Linked DNA regions of Homo sapiens: regions 1, 2 and 4 are each linked to region 3. Evidence: promoter capture Hi-C in 16 types of primary human blood cells and fetal thymus (Javierre and others, 2016). All regions are on one chromosome and are shown on one strand. The core of a region is centred on a gene start or on the middle of the fragment in contact, and the rest is flanking DNA. Distances in the headings are between cores, read along the strand shown. Region 1 overlaps SMAP2 (small ArfGAP2). Region 2 holds the start of SMAP2 (small ArfGAP2). Region 3 holds the start of PPT1 (palmitoyl-protein thioesterase 1). Region 4 overlaps SMAP2 (small ArfGAP2).

The links. The method cuts DNA at HindIII sites, captures the fragments that hold promoters and counts their contacts. A CHiCAGO score of 5 or more calls a contact.
Region 1: a contact is called between a fragment that was not itself captured here and the fragment with the promoter of PPT1 in region 3, in 16 of 17 cell types (total B cells, naive CD4 T cells, total CD8 T cells and 13 more). The highest score is 9.2, in total B cells.
Region 2: a contact is called between a fragment that was not itself captured here and the fragment with the promoter of PPT1 in region 3, in 3 of 17 cell types (erythroblasts, megakaryocytes and endothelial precursors). The highest score is 5.5, in erythroblasts.
Region 4: a fragment that was not itself captured here is called in contact with the fragment with the promoter of PPT1 in region 3 in 4 of 17 cell types (M2 macrophages, M1 macrophages, erythroblasts and 1 more); the score reaches 8.0 in M2 macrophages.

Annotation. Positions count from the first base shown.
Region 1 is chr1:40,417,531-40,420,935 of GRCh38, reverse strand. The region is part of intron 9 of SMAP2 (small ArfGAP2); the gene reads right to left. Among named protein-coding and RNA genes, the nearest start is that of ZFP69B-DT, 31 kb to the left of the region's middle. The HindIII fragment of the contact is 254 bases long and covers 1,771-2,024 here.
Region 2 is chr1:40,373,078-40,376,428 of GRCh38, reverse strand. SMAP2 (small ArfGAP2) reads right to left here and starts at 2,702. Exons shown (of 10, transcript NM_022733.3): 1 at 2,206-2,702. The coding sequence starts at 2,308. RefSeq lists an enhancer at 1,945-2,444 and silencers at 2,430-2,569, 2,640-2,959. The HindIII fragment of the contact is 857 bases long and covers 1,268-2,124 here.
Region 3 is chr1:40,095,597-40,098,540 of GRCh38, reverse strand. It overlaps PPT1 (palmitoyl-protein thioesterase 1), which reads left to right and starts at 1,289. Exons shown (of 9, transcript NM_000310.4): 1 at 1,289-1,426. The coding sequence starts at 1,303. RefSeq lists an enhancer at 1,425-1,554. The HindIII fragment of the contact is 4,509 bases long and covers 1-2,944 here.
Region 4 is chr1:40,390,724-40,393,886 of GRCh38, reverse strand. The region is part of intron 1 of SMAP2 (small ArfGAP2); the gene reads right to left. Among named protein-coding and RNA genes, the nearest start is that of SMAP2, 19 kb to the right of the region's middle. The HindIII fragment of the contact is 3,918 bases long and covers 1-3,163 here.

The DNA.
Region 1 (3,405 bases), core at 648-3,147, 320 kb before region 3:
ATTAACACCATATTCTAATGTACATGGCATTTCATTTTCAGATCTCTGTAGTCTCCTTTAAGCTAGACCAGTTTCCCTAACACTTCCTTCCATTTCTTCCTGACACTGACATTTTTAAGAACCCAGGACAGTTATTTTGTAGCATACCCCTCAATTTGGATTCATCTCATGTTTTCTCATAATTGGATCGAGGTTCAATATTTTTGGCAAGATTCTATGGAGGTGACACATGTCTTTCTTAGTACAAAATATCAGGAAGCATATGACATTACTTTGTTCCTCTGTCAGTAATTTTATGTTTGATCACTTGGCTGAGGTAGTGACTATATTTCTTTCATTATAATTAATAAATAATCTGAAGGGCATTTCTTTGCAAATGTGTCAATCCTTTGCTCTTTTTACAACTACTGTCATTCTTCTGTAAAGAAGGCTTTTCCTCCCTCCATTCCACACCTGGTTTTTAAAAAATATCACCGTGGACTCATGGTTTTGTTTTGTTTTTTCCATTCAGTGTGTCATAATCCATTACTGTTGTTACTCTTTTTGATGTTCAAATTGTCTCACATTTGGCCAGTCAGAGCCACTGGAAGTTGGCTCATGCGTCCCTCTGACATATTCCCATCAGACTTATAGCATTCCATTACTTATATAAATAAAAACGAAACAATGAAAATAAGTGAATTAAAATCTCCACTATGAAAGCTAGAAAATAACAAAGTAAACCCATAGAAAGCCTACGGAAATTGAGGTAGAAAACGGAAAAATGTAGCACCAATAAATCGAAATCCTGGTTCTTTGAAAAAAATTAATGAGACTGCTAGGCATAACTTTTGATAAATTTGAAAACCTTGGCGAAATGGAAAATCTAGGTAAATACAGTTTTCCAAAATTGACTTCCATAGAAGAAACAGAGAAAAGTATCAAAGATTTGCTACAAAAAAAGCAATAGTGCCCACAAACTTCACATGGGAATTCCACAAAACCTTCAAAGACCAGAGCTACATAAATTATTCTGGACCACAGAGAAACAAAAACATAAAAGTACTTCTTATAAATAAGTATAACCCTGATAAAGATAGCTATACATGCACATGTGCAGTACACATGCACCATACCACCTCTCTGGGGTTCCTTTGCCTGTCTCTTGGTTTTCACATTAAATCACTTTGTATTTCTTTGTACCTAGTGCAAAACTAGTGTTGCTTTGTTAGCCAATTTGAACATCATTTTCTTTTGATAGAAGAGTTGCCTACTGGTATGACTGGTATGTTTGGTCTCAACTCCATCATATTAGATTTTTACTGTGTTTATTGTATTTGCTGCACTTTGTAGTCTGTTTTTAAAAATTCTCAGCTGGGCGCAGTGGCTCATGCCTGTAATCCCAGCACTTTGGGAGGCCAAGGTGGGTGGATCACCTGAGGTCAGGAGTTTGAGACTAGCCTGGCCAACATGGTGAAACCCCGTCTCTACTAAAAAATACAAAAAAAATTAACCGGGTGTGGTGGCGGGTGCCTGTAATCCCAGCTACTCGGGAGGCTGACGCAGAAGAATCACTTGAACCCAGGAGGCGGAGGTTGCAGTGAGCCGAGATTGTGCCACTGCATTCCAGCCTGGGTGACAGAGTGAGACTTTGTCTCAAAAAAAAAAAAAAAAAAGAAAGGAAGAAAATTATCTTGGTATTCAGAACATTTCACGTGTTTGTTCTAGTGATTACCTTCATAGTAATACTTTTTAGCAATGTCCTTGGTCTCCTTTTTCCTTATTCAAGCTTCCGTGATTTGGTTTGTCAGCTTATTGCATCCTTCGATTTCTACTTCTTTCCCATACAATATTTATTATTCAACTTTTCTCCCTCCTCCTTCATTTTCAGTTGTATTTGTTTGTCAGAATATAATGTATATTCTGCAACGCTTGTCACCACCTTTGTTTTAGTCTTAGATTCTCAATTAAACATTCAATTCTCACCATCAGTTCTTTTGCCAAAAATGAAAATGACCCCAGTCATCTCTTAGGTGGATGAAGCTTATCTTCTGTTAGATTCCCCAGGAAAGTCTTGTAAGTGTGATATTCTCTGAGTTCTTGCATATTTATTTTTTACAGCCTTGATACCTGAAGGATAGCTTGGCTGGCTTGGTTGTAAAATACTTGTTGTGTCTTGCATACACTTGAGTGTCTTTAAAATACTACTCTCCTTGTTATTCTTTTTGTATTTTGCTGCTAGGAAGTCTGATGTCAACCTGGGTATTTTTTGTTTGTTCTAAGTAACAGATTTTTGTGGGTAGGAGGTATGGAAAAGGTTGGACCCCTAAACATTTTGAATGTTCTTTAAAGTCTGTAGATTTGCTGGGATATGTTTTAAAGTTGACTGTTCTGGGTCAATTTTCCCAGACACACAGTGGGCTCTTTCCATATTATATCCAAGTCTTTTATTTCTAGAATGTTTTCTGGTGTTAAACACATTAATACTGTCCCATATTTTATTTATTTTGTCTTTATTTCTTTGGGCATCTCCAAATATATGTAAGTTTTCTTTGCCTAACTTCCATATTAATTTCCATCTAATTCTTTTTACTACTTTCTATATTTAGTTTTCATTCTCTTAGCTGTTTCATGCCTTTCCTCAATGCCGAATATATTTTCAGCTCAATCTATTGTTCTTTAGCTAACTTGTAATTGAGTCTTTATACGAAAATTTTGGCTTTTTCTTCAATTTCTTTTCTGAGTTTAGTAAACTTTCATTTCACAGCATGCAGTTTTTTATCCATTTTGGCTTTAAGTTTTTGAATTTCTGATTTAAGGTGTTTTGTCTTATCTGCAAATGTTTAAGGACATTTAATTCAGATTGGTAGATTGTGTAACAATTTTCTTCTGCTTCATGACTGTTTTTTGAGGGAGAATATTCATTACGTGAAATGTTTTGATTTTCATTTTCTATTTTCTTCCTGTAGTAGTTGTGTACAAATGTCAGCTTCCATGTTTGGTTCATTTTTGTAAGGTCTTATTTTTTCTCAATCAGCAATAATAGGTGTGAAGGTTTGGGGAGGCTTACTAAATTTCTTAGATTAAGAGCACCATCTTTTATTAGTGAAGTGGTTATTTTGGAAGAGGGAAGAAGGTGTATATTTGATTTTGTGATTCTCATTCCCATTTCTCGTGTCTTTCTTTCCTTCACCACCAGTCCTCTAAAGGGTACCTCCTCCTTTTAGGCCATGCCCATCTCCCCGAGAAGCAATGCTTTCCCAAGGTTACTACCTATACTCCTATATATCTGAAGTCTCTTATTTTTGATCCTCCAAGTAAACAGAGTTCTAATCTACCACATCTCAGACCTGTTCTCAGTATGTCTTTGATGAGGGTAGGTCCTTCTCCTTCTGGGGGGTTACTTTATCTGTGGTATTATTGCTA
Region 2 (3,351 bases), core at 447-2,946, 280 kb before region 3:
GCCACCTGGTAAAATGTAAAACGAACTTCTGAAAAGAAATTGAGGATCCAGGATTCTACCATCAACAGTAGTTAATAAAGTTTACAAGCCAGCAGTTACTAGTTCTCATTAAGAATTAACTGATATTTCATAACCTGATCCCCAGTAAGCTTATTAATAAAAAGCAACGGAAATTTCGGGCTGGGCATGGTGGCTCACACCTGTAATCCCAGCACTTTGGAAGGCTGAGGCGGGTGGATCACCTGAGGTCAGGAGTTCAAGACCAGCCTGGCCAACATGGTGAAACCCTGTCTCTACTAAAAATACAAAAATCAGCTGGGCATGGTGGCGGGCGCCTGTAATCCCAGGTACTCGGGAGGCTGAGGCAGGAGAATCACTTGAACCCGGGAGGCAGAGGTTGCAGTGAGCCGAGATTGCACCATTGCACTCCAGCCTGGGCGACAAAGCGAAACTGTCTCAAAAAATAAAAATAAAAAATAAAATAAATAAAAAGCAATGGAAATTTGGAGGAAGAAGTAGTGAATCAGCCTCTCTCTTCCATGTGCTGTATTTTATTGGAATATGAGTAAGTATAAGGGTAATATGAGAAATGGGGGGGGGGGTTCTAGTCACCAAAATGGCATCTGACTCTCCAAATGCAGCAATGCTCACTCCAGTGGGTTGCTTCACTGTGACTCAAGATCTGTCAAATGAGGACATAAGGGAATTTGAATAAAGCCAAGATACACTCCTAAAATAAACCAAATCTTCCAATAGACCTAACAGAAGATGTAACAAGAATCAAGAAGCTAACCTACTCAACATAAATTGATTCTAAAATACTTTTTAAAATGAATTATTGCTAATGCAAAAATTCAGGAAAGAAGTCTAGGAATTTGTTTTCCTAATGGCACATTCCATTTATCTGTTGGTAGAGGTCACTAAAATACATTACTAGGTGTCTATGTATCCCTCCCCTGTTCTCCTTTTATAACCTTATTCTTCAAAAATAAAAGGTAATTAAGTGAAAGCATCAATTAAATATGTCCTTCCTTTCTCAAAATAGATAAATACGAATATAACTGAATCTTTGTTTTATAGTATATGCCCACTACGCTGTACGGCAAACAACCATGGCAAATCCACTGCATTATGAACAAAAGTAAATTGTCGCCCCCAAAATATAACTATCCATTTCGACCCAACCAAAGGGAAAATAATTTTCCCAATCCTCCAATTATATGCCAAAAGAATTAGAAAATACAGGAAAAAAAGATTCATAGAAGCTTGTATAAATGTCAAGTGCCAACATTTCACTAATAACCAAGATTTCCTATTGTACTGACTTTTAATTGTATCAAATCATGAATCTTCTAGGGCACAGAAAACAAAGACTAAATGGTTCTGCCAATTTACAATGATCATATTTCACCTTTAGAAGTGTAATCGCCATGGAAGCAATGAATTCATCGAATTCATCTTTCTCTCTCCACTGATTAAACGGATCCTGCACTACAGGCATAATCGGCTAGTTTCTGCCACCACTCATACATAGGCCTCCAACGCACTCTACAAGCCAGGGCTACACTGCCTAGAAATCCGCACTGTGTCACTGCATAAGGCAGTTTCCCACTGCACACATCCAGAAGAATAAAGTCACCTAAGCACTCTTGTCAGATCTTAGCAAGGCTGCAAAATGACAGGAGTTGCTAACCAAATAGCAGGAAGCAAAAATCACCACCTTTAAAAATCATTTAAGCAGTTTTCCTTTCCGCCATCTCACTTCCCTCCTCCTCCTCCTCGTCATTCTCTCTCTCTCTCTCTCACACACACACACACACACACACACACACGCACGCACGCACGCACGCAATGCAGTTCATCCCCAGCTTTGCAAGTGACATGCTGGGAGCTCTCTCTGGACAGCCGGCCCAGAACTCATTCAGAGCCCTCAAATACAGACATTCTCACCTGAACACGCCAGGCAACTTCCACCCGCACCATCACCTCCACCCTCCCCGACACACACAGACTCGCCCTCGCAAGCTCTACCCATACCAATCCCCCAGCTGCAGAAAGCCCAGTAGGCTCACTGCAAGCGCAGCACGCGTTACCACTTATAAGCCGAGTTGGGCGGCCTAAGCTTCAGAAACCGCCTCTTCACGCAGCCCACCCCCACCACCCCGGCGCGGCTGGACCCCTGGCCCGCCAGGTGGGATGCGCTACCTTTAGACTGGCAATCTGCACAAAACTTGTTATCCTCCTCCAGCAGCAGGTTGGCCAGGACAGCCTGGTACCGATCCACGTCCTTCACCGACTTGCCTGTCATGGCCAGGGTGCCGGCGGGGGCAGAGGGCGACGCGCCCTCCTCGCCCCCAGAGACCCCTGCCTCAGTCCGGGGTTGAGGACTCCCGGTCCCCCGCCCAGGGGCACCTCCTGAGCGGGGAGAGCCCTCTCCTCCGGCCCCGCCGGACGCCCCTTCCCGGGTCGGGGGCGTCCGTCCCCCACTCCGCAGCCCCTCGGCGCGGCGCCCCTTGGCGGGCTTAGGGACAGGCCCGCCTCCAAGAGAGGCTGCGGGGCCAGAGACCCTCAGCCCAGGCAAAGGCGGACCACGAGCCTCCTGGGTGCCGGACGCAGATGACCCTCTGGCCGGCCTGTCTGCTGGCCTTGCGTCCCGCGCCTCGGTTTCCCTGGCAGCTGCCGTCAGCTCCGCTACCACCTCCACCGCCTACTTCCGGCAGCTCTTCCTCCCCACCTCCACCCTGCCCAGCTCGCGCATGCGCCCCGCCCCCACCGCGCCGCACTGGGCTCTTCCTTCAGCTCCGCCTCTCGGGAACCAATCCGTGGAGAAGCGGGGGGCGGGCCTTGGGTGGGGGCGGAGGGAAGGGGTGGGCACGCCCCCTGCGTGTCCTTGGAAGAGAATGAATGGAGCCTGGTAGAAAGGGAGTGGAGGGAATGGAAGAAAGTGAAGGAAGACAACAACTAACATTTACTGAGCTCTTACTATGCGCTAGGCACTGTGTTAAGCGCTTTGCATGAACTATCCCAACATAATCCTCACAACGACCCTATGATCATCCTTATGTAACCTGAGGGTTGTTGATACCCCAAAGTCCTCCAGCTTGTTTTTTCCAACAGCCAAATATAAGAGTCCAAGCCCCTAACCCAGGATATAGGAACGTCACCCCCTCCCCACATTTTCAGAGGACTCTGGTCACCTCTCACTTGGAATACCTGCTCCCACTAATACTCATTAGCTCTCCTCTGTGACTCCTGCCTTTTTGGATATTGTTTGGCCTGGTGCCCAGACAGTTTGTTTCTTCTTCCATTTCTTAAATTCTCACAAAACAGCGAGTTTTTTGTGGCAGACTT
Region 3 (2,944 bases), core at 40-2,539:
TATGCTGCCTGGGCTGTACTCTCTTTTTATTTATTTTTTATTCTTATTTTTTGAGACAGAGTTTTGCTCTTGTTGCCCAGGCTGGAGTACAATGGTATGATCTCAGCTTACCGCAACCTCTGCCTCCCGGGTTCAAGAGATTCTCCTGCCTCAGCCTCCTGAGTAGCTGGGATTACAAGTATGCGCCACCACACCCGGCTAATTTTGTAATTTTAGTAGAGACGGGATTTCTCCATGTTGGTCAGGCTGGTCTCGAACTCGCTACCTTAGATGATCTGCCCACCTCAGCCTCCCAAAGTGCTGGGATTACAGGAGTGAGCCACCGCGCCCGGCCCTATACTCATTTTTTATAAAACTGGCCTCATATTATTCCATTGTATAGTGGATACACTCTAATTTCTTTATAAATTATTTAAACTATTTTTTGATGTTTTGTTGAAAAAAAACTTGAGCAGGGAACTGATATTATGAAGGTGGATTGAGGGATGAATGTGGCAATAGAGCATAAAATGAATTAAAGAGGAGAGAATGGAAAAGGAAATGGTTGATGAGAGACCCTTGAAATAATCCAGCTGAGATTAGGCCAGTTAGTGGCCATGGGTTTCCCCCTCACTCTTATGCATCCAACATATGCTTTCGTCCGTCTTGAAGTCCCGACATTTCTAGAAAACACAGTTGTCTTTCTCCTCTCTACCTTAGCTCATCTCAGTCCTTCTGAATTTCATCTTTGCTTGTTGAAATCCTACCTCTCCTTCAATATCCAGAACAAACCCCACACCCTGCCATGATTGGTCCTGGCTGGAAACCGTCCCTCCTTCTTTCTTCCTTCCTCTGTGCATGTTTCTTGCAAAGGCAGTACAGGGCAGTGGTGAAGAGCAACGACTTTGGAACCACCAATTTGCTATCTCTGTGACCTTGGGCACCTTACTCAGTGCCAATTCGCAGTGCCTCAGTGTCCTCACCTGTCAGGGGGAGAAGTGCATACAGCATTGTTATGAAGAGTGAATTAGTTAAAGGTTGTAAGAATAGTGCCTGATAGCATCTGATCAGCACTGAATATATGTTAGCAATTATTTTGATTCACCGCAGAGGGCGGTCTACGAGAGCGCAGAGCCCCACTCGGCCAGCGGGGTCTGGCGGGGGACCTGTCGCGCTGAAAGCTCCAGGGTAGGGCCGACGCCCATCAGGCTGGGCATCCGTTCGGGATGCGCAGGTTGCGATCTGCAACCGGCGGCGCCACGCCCAGGCGGGCGGAGCGCGGTTCCCGGAGTCTCGCGCCCGCGGTCATGTGACACAGCGAAGATGGCGTCGCCCGGCTGCCTGTGGCTCTTGGCTGTGGCTCTCCTGCCATGGACCTGCGCTTCTCGGGCGCTGCAGCATCTGGACCCGCCGGCGCCGCTGCCGTTGGTGATCTGGCATGGGATGGGTGAGTGAGTGAGAAATTTAAAAGGGTTTGGCGATTCTCTCTCTTCCTAGCCTGGGTTCGCATCTGCAAAATGCGGGTGTAGAGGGCGAGGACGTGGTCCCACAGCACGCGGCTGCCTCGACATTTTAGGATTTGAAGGATCTGCATTGGAAAGAGAGAAGGGGAAGGAGCCGTCCCCTTCACTGGAAAGAGAGAAGGGGAAGGAAAGAGAGAGCCGCGCACGGCGTTGAAGTTTTACATGCTGTCCTTGATTAATCCTTACAGTAGTGGCGTCAGGATGCAGCATCTCTCACTTGGTCAGGCTAGGTGAGCTGCGGCTGGCTATATGACTGGCGCATCTACCCTTTTATTTATTCCTTCACACATTGAACAGAGATTTGTTAGGCACCTACAGTTCATTTACAAATTGAGTAACCCTTATCTGAAATGCTTGGGACTGGGAAGCATTTCGGATTTTTTTTTTTTTAATATTTGCATATATACAAGAGATCTGGGGGGTGGGACCCAAGTGTAAACAGGAAATTTATTTATTTTTCATATACACCTTATACACATAGCTGGAAGGTAATTTTATGCAATATTTTAAATAATTTTGTGCAACCCATCACATGAGGTCAGGTGTGGAATTTTCCACTTGTGGCATCATGTCTGCGCTGAAAAACTTTCAGATTTTGGGTTTCCCATTTTCAGATTAGGATGCTCAACCTATATTCATTTAACACAGTTATTGAGCACCTACTAGGTGCTGAGGATACAGTAGGGAACTAAACAGACTAAATTCTTTGTTCTTTTGGAACCTACTCTCCAGTAGGAGAAGCAGATTATAAAGAAATTAACAAGTAAAACATAACATATCAAATGGTGATATGTGCAACAGAGAAAAATATAGTAGGGTGTAGGATAAAAACTGGAGGTGGGGGCTTGCACTTTTAATAAAGCAAAGTTGGGAAAGAATTCATTGAAAAAGTGACATCTGAGTACAAAACTGAGGTAGATGAGGACAGTTGCCATTTGGCTGTCTGGTAGAAGGAACAGTAAATGGGAAAGCCCTGATGTGGAAGTATGTCTGGTGTGTTCAAGGGACAGCATTCAGATCAGCGTGGCTGGAAATGAGTAAGCAAGGGGAAGAAGTTAGGAGTTTAGTTTGGAAGGGAGGGGCAGGTACAGAAGTTATTGGGCCTAGTAAGACTAATGCAGGGACTTTGGCTAGAGTGTCATGGGGAACTTTTTGAGCAGATGAGTGACATGATCTGACACATTTTTAAAGAATCACTTTAGTTGCTGTATTAAGAATAGATCGTAGGGCGTCATGGATGGTCACAGGGAGACAGGTTAGGAAACTATTGCAATAATTTAAACAAGAGATGATGACTTGGAACTGTAGAGTAACAGTAGAGGTGTTGAGAAGTGGTCAAAGTTTGGATAGATTTTGAAGGTGGATTGCTAACAGATCAGACTTGGAATAAGAGAGAAAGAAAGGAGCCAAAGATGACTCCACAGGTTTTGGCCTGAACAATT
Region 4 (3,163 bases), core at 436-2,935, 290 kb before region 3:
TTGATTCTGTTCACGCAAATACTCCTTAAAAAGGTTAGAAGTGGCCGGGCGCGGTGCCTCACGCCTTAATCCCAGCACTTTGGGATGCTAAGGCCGGTGGATCACCTGAGGTCAGGGGTTCAAGACCAGCCTGGCCAACATGCTGAAACCCCATCTCTACTAAAAATACAAAAATTAGCCAGGCATTGTGGCTCACGCCTGTAATACTAACTATTCAGGAGGCTGAGGCAGGGGAATCGCTTGAACCTGGGAGGTGGAGGTTGCAGTGAGCCAAGATTGAGCCACTGTACTCCAGCCTGGGCGACAGAGCAAGACTCTGTCACAAAAAAAAAAAAAAAAAAAAAAGTTAGAAGAACTACTTACACTTTGTTGATCAACTTACAGTCTCTCACAAATAGCTTTACAGGGCCTATTTCCTCTATTTGCAAAACATCTTTTTGTGCAAATCTTGCTCTGCCCACTTTCCCCATGAAGCCTTTTCTCCTTCCTATTCCAACTCCCACGGCGCTCTGCTGCCTCTCCTGCTGCACTCACTCATTTGTGGTTGTTCTGTTGTTGGGTTTTTTGTTTGTTCTTCTAAGATAGGGTTTGTTGCTTTGTTGCCCAAGCTAGAGTGCAGTGCAGCCTCAATCTCCTATGCTCAAGCAATCCTCCCACCTCAGCTTCTTGAGTAGCTGGGACTACAGGCATGTGCTACCACGCCTGGCCAGCTTTTATTTTTGAGAGCTCCTTTAGGTAACAACAACAATAAAATTATACTAATTTAGTATACTTTTTTTTTTTTTGAGATGGATTCACGCTCTGTCACCCAGGCTGGAGTGCAGTGGTGTGATCTTGGCTCACTGCAACCTCCGCCTCCCGGGTTCAAGCTATTCCCCTGCCTCAGCTTCCCGAATACCTGGGACTACAGGTGCATGCCACCACGCCTGGCTAATTTTTTGTGTCTTTAGTAGAGACAGCGGGGTTTCACCATGTTAGTCAGGATGGTCTCGATCTCCTGACCTAGTGATGCACCTGCCTCGGCCTCCCAACGTGCTGCGATTACAGGCATGAGCCACTGAGCCCGGCCTAATTTAGTATACTTTTTAAAAACCTAGTATGACTATTTTGCTTATGTGGATTTAAGTTTTAGATTGCTTATTACAGAAAATCACAGAAAGGTAATTTAAATACCCTAAATAGAAAGTCAAGGAAAAGGGTGTCCTTAATGCTCCTTGTCTCCTGGTTAGCCTATGATATTTCAGCTCCAGCCAATTTCCTTTACACAAAGACCCTGCTTAAAGCATTTATGAATAAGCTGGAAGAGTGGTGGATGAGACATGGCTTCTCTGAATAGGGGAGGGAGGACACAAAAAATAGCTGCTTTCATTGAGGGCAGGAAAGAGATTATTTCATTAGGAGCCAAACAGTGAGACTATCTCAGTACAAACAATTGTTTGGCTTGAAGACTCCATGTGGGTAATTACTCCAGCAAAGGCTCAGCTGGAATGGAACACGGAGCCTGCCAGGACCTAAGGATAGGGACTGACACAGGCTTAAGTGTCTGAATCATGGCTTTGGAATCCCAGAGCATCCCAGCAAAGATGCTCACAGAACACACTCTACCCCAATCAGCGAGAAGCACCATTCTGCACCCGACCAAGTGCAGAATGTGAATTTAAAACAGATGAGAAAATCTGGGGGTACTGGGAGCAAATTCAAAGTTATTAAACCTAAACTGATATTTTATAGCAAATGTAGCAAGTCCAAAGATTAGATTTCTTGGGCAATCTAATGCATTTCAATCACCACTTCAATGGCTAACAATAGGCTGGGTGGAGTTGGTGTGCAGGGAGGGACTGCTGAGCTAATAGCTGGGCAAATCATTTCAAAGTCAGCCAGGTGGACCTGATATTTCAAAACTTGATACTATAATTAAACCAATTTCCTAGTGACCTCACTTCAGGTAATATAAGCAAACTTGGTTCTCAAGTTACTGTCTTCATCTCCTGGGGACATTCAGTTCTTTACATTTTTAGGTTACTTCAGTTTAACTTCCTCTTTGCAACAACCAGTATCTACTCATATATTTAAAAACAAAAACAAAACAAAACAAAACAAAAAACTAAAGCTGCAAAGTGAGCCTGCCCACTGCGGGAGGGAAAGGGCCTATGTTTAGAAGAAGCTACTAAAAAGGGTGATATGGTCATTGTCCAATGAGATTGCTCTTCATCCTCCATCCCTAGGATAGATTCCTCACCCCACCACTTTGACGAGGAATTTTTTTCCCCTAGGAAGCTGAAGGGATAACTATCATAATACTAGATTCTGGATGCACAAGACCCAGTCCCGATCCATAACTCACAATCCCAGGGCCTTCCTAGGTTGCTATCTGATAGCCTTTGTGAGTGAATGCTTTCATACATTTCAATCATTACCCTGACCAAGGCTAATAGCAGGCTGGTGGGTGTAGGCGTGTAGGGACTGCTGCGCTAACAGCTGGGCAATCATTTCAAAGTTGGCCAGGTGGACTCAACATTTGAAAACTTGACATGGTCATTAAAGTCCCTCATAATCAAGCGTCGGCATTCATCTGTGTATAGTATACACTTAATGCATGCTTACTGATTAAACAGGTAATAAGCAATAGTGGAATAACATGAAAACTGATATTAAAAACAGCCCATATTCAAATAGTCCCATCTTTGTTCCTCTAGACCAATGGCTCCCAACAGAAACGATTTCCCCTCAAGGGGCAATGCTGATGTCTAGAGACATTTTTGGTTGTCACAACGGGCAGAGGGGTAGGGAAGAGCTACTGGCATCTAGTGGGCAGAGGACAGGAATGCTGGCTCCTAAACATTCTAAAATGCCCTGGACAGTGCCCACAACAAGGAATCACCCAAAATGTCAATAGTCTGAGGTTGAGAAATCCTGCTCTAGAGGAACCATTTTTAAGCCATTTAGTTTGAAGTGAGACATAAGAATATGTCAATTTTGTGGAAAAGCCTCTCTTGTTCTGTAACAAACAGATACACGTTTAGAGTACAAAATTCTAAAATTGTAACAAACCTTAGGAATGATCTAGTCTAAGCACAGTTGGAGAAACTAAGGCCTAGAGAGGTCAAGTCATTTGCCCAAGTTCACAGAAGAAAGGATCAGCTGGACTGAAATTAGAATCACC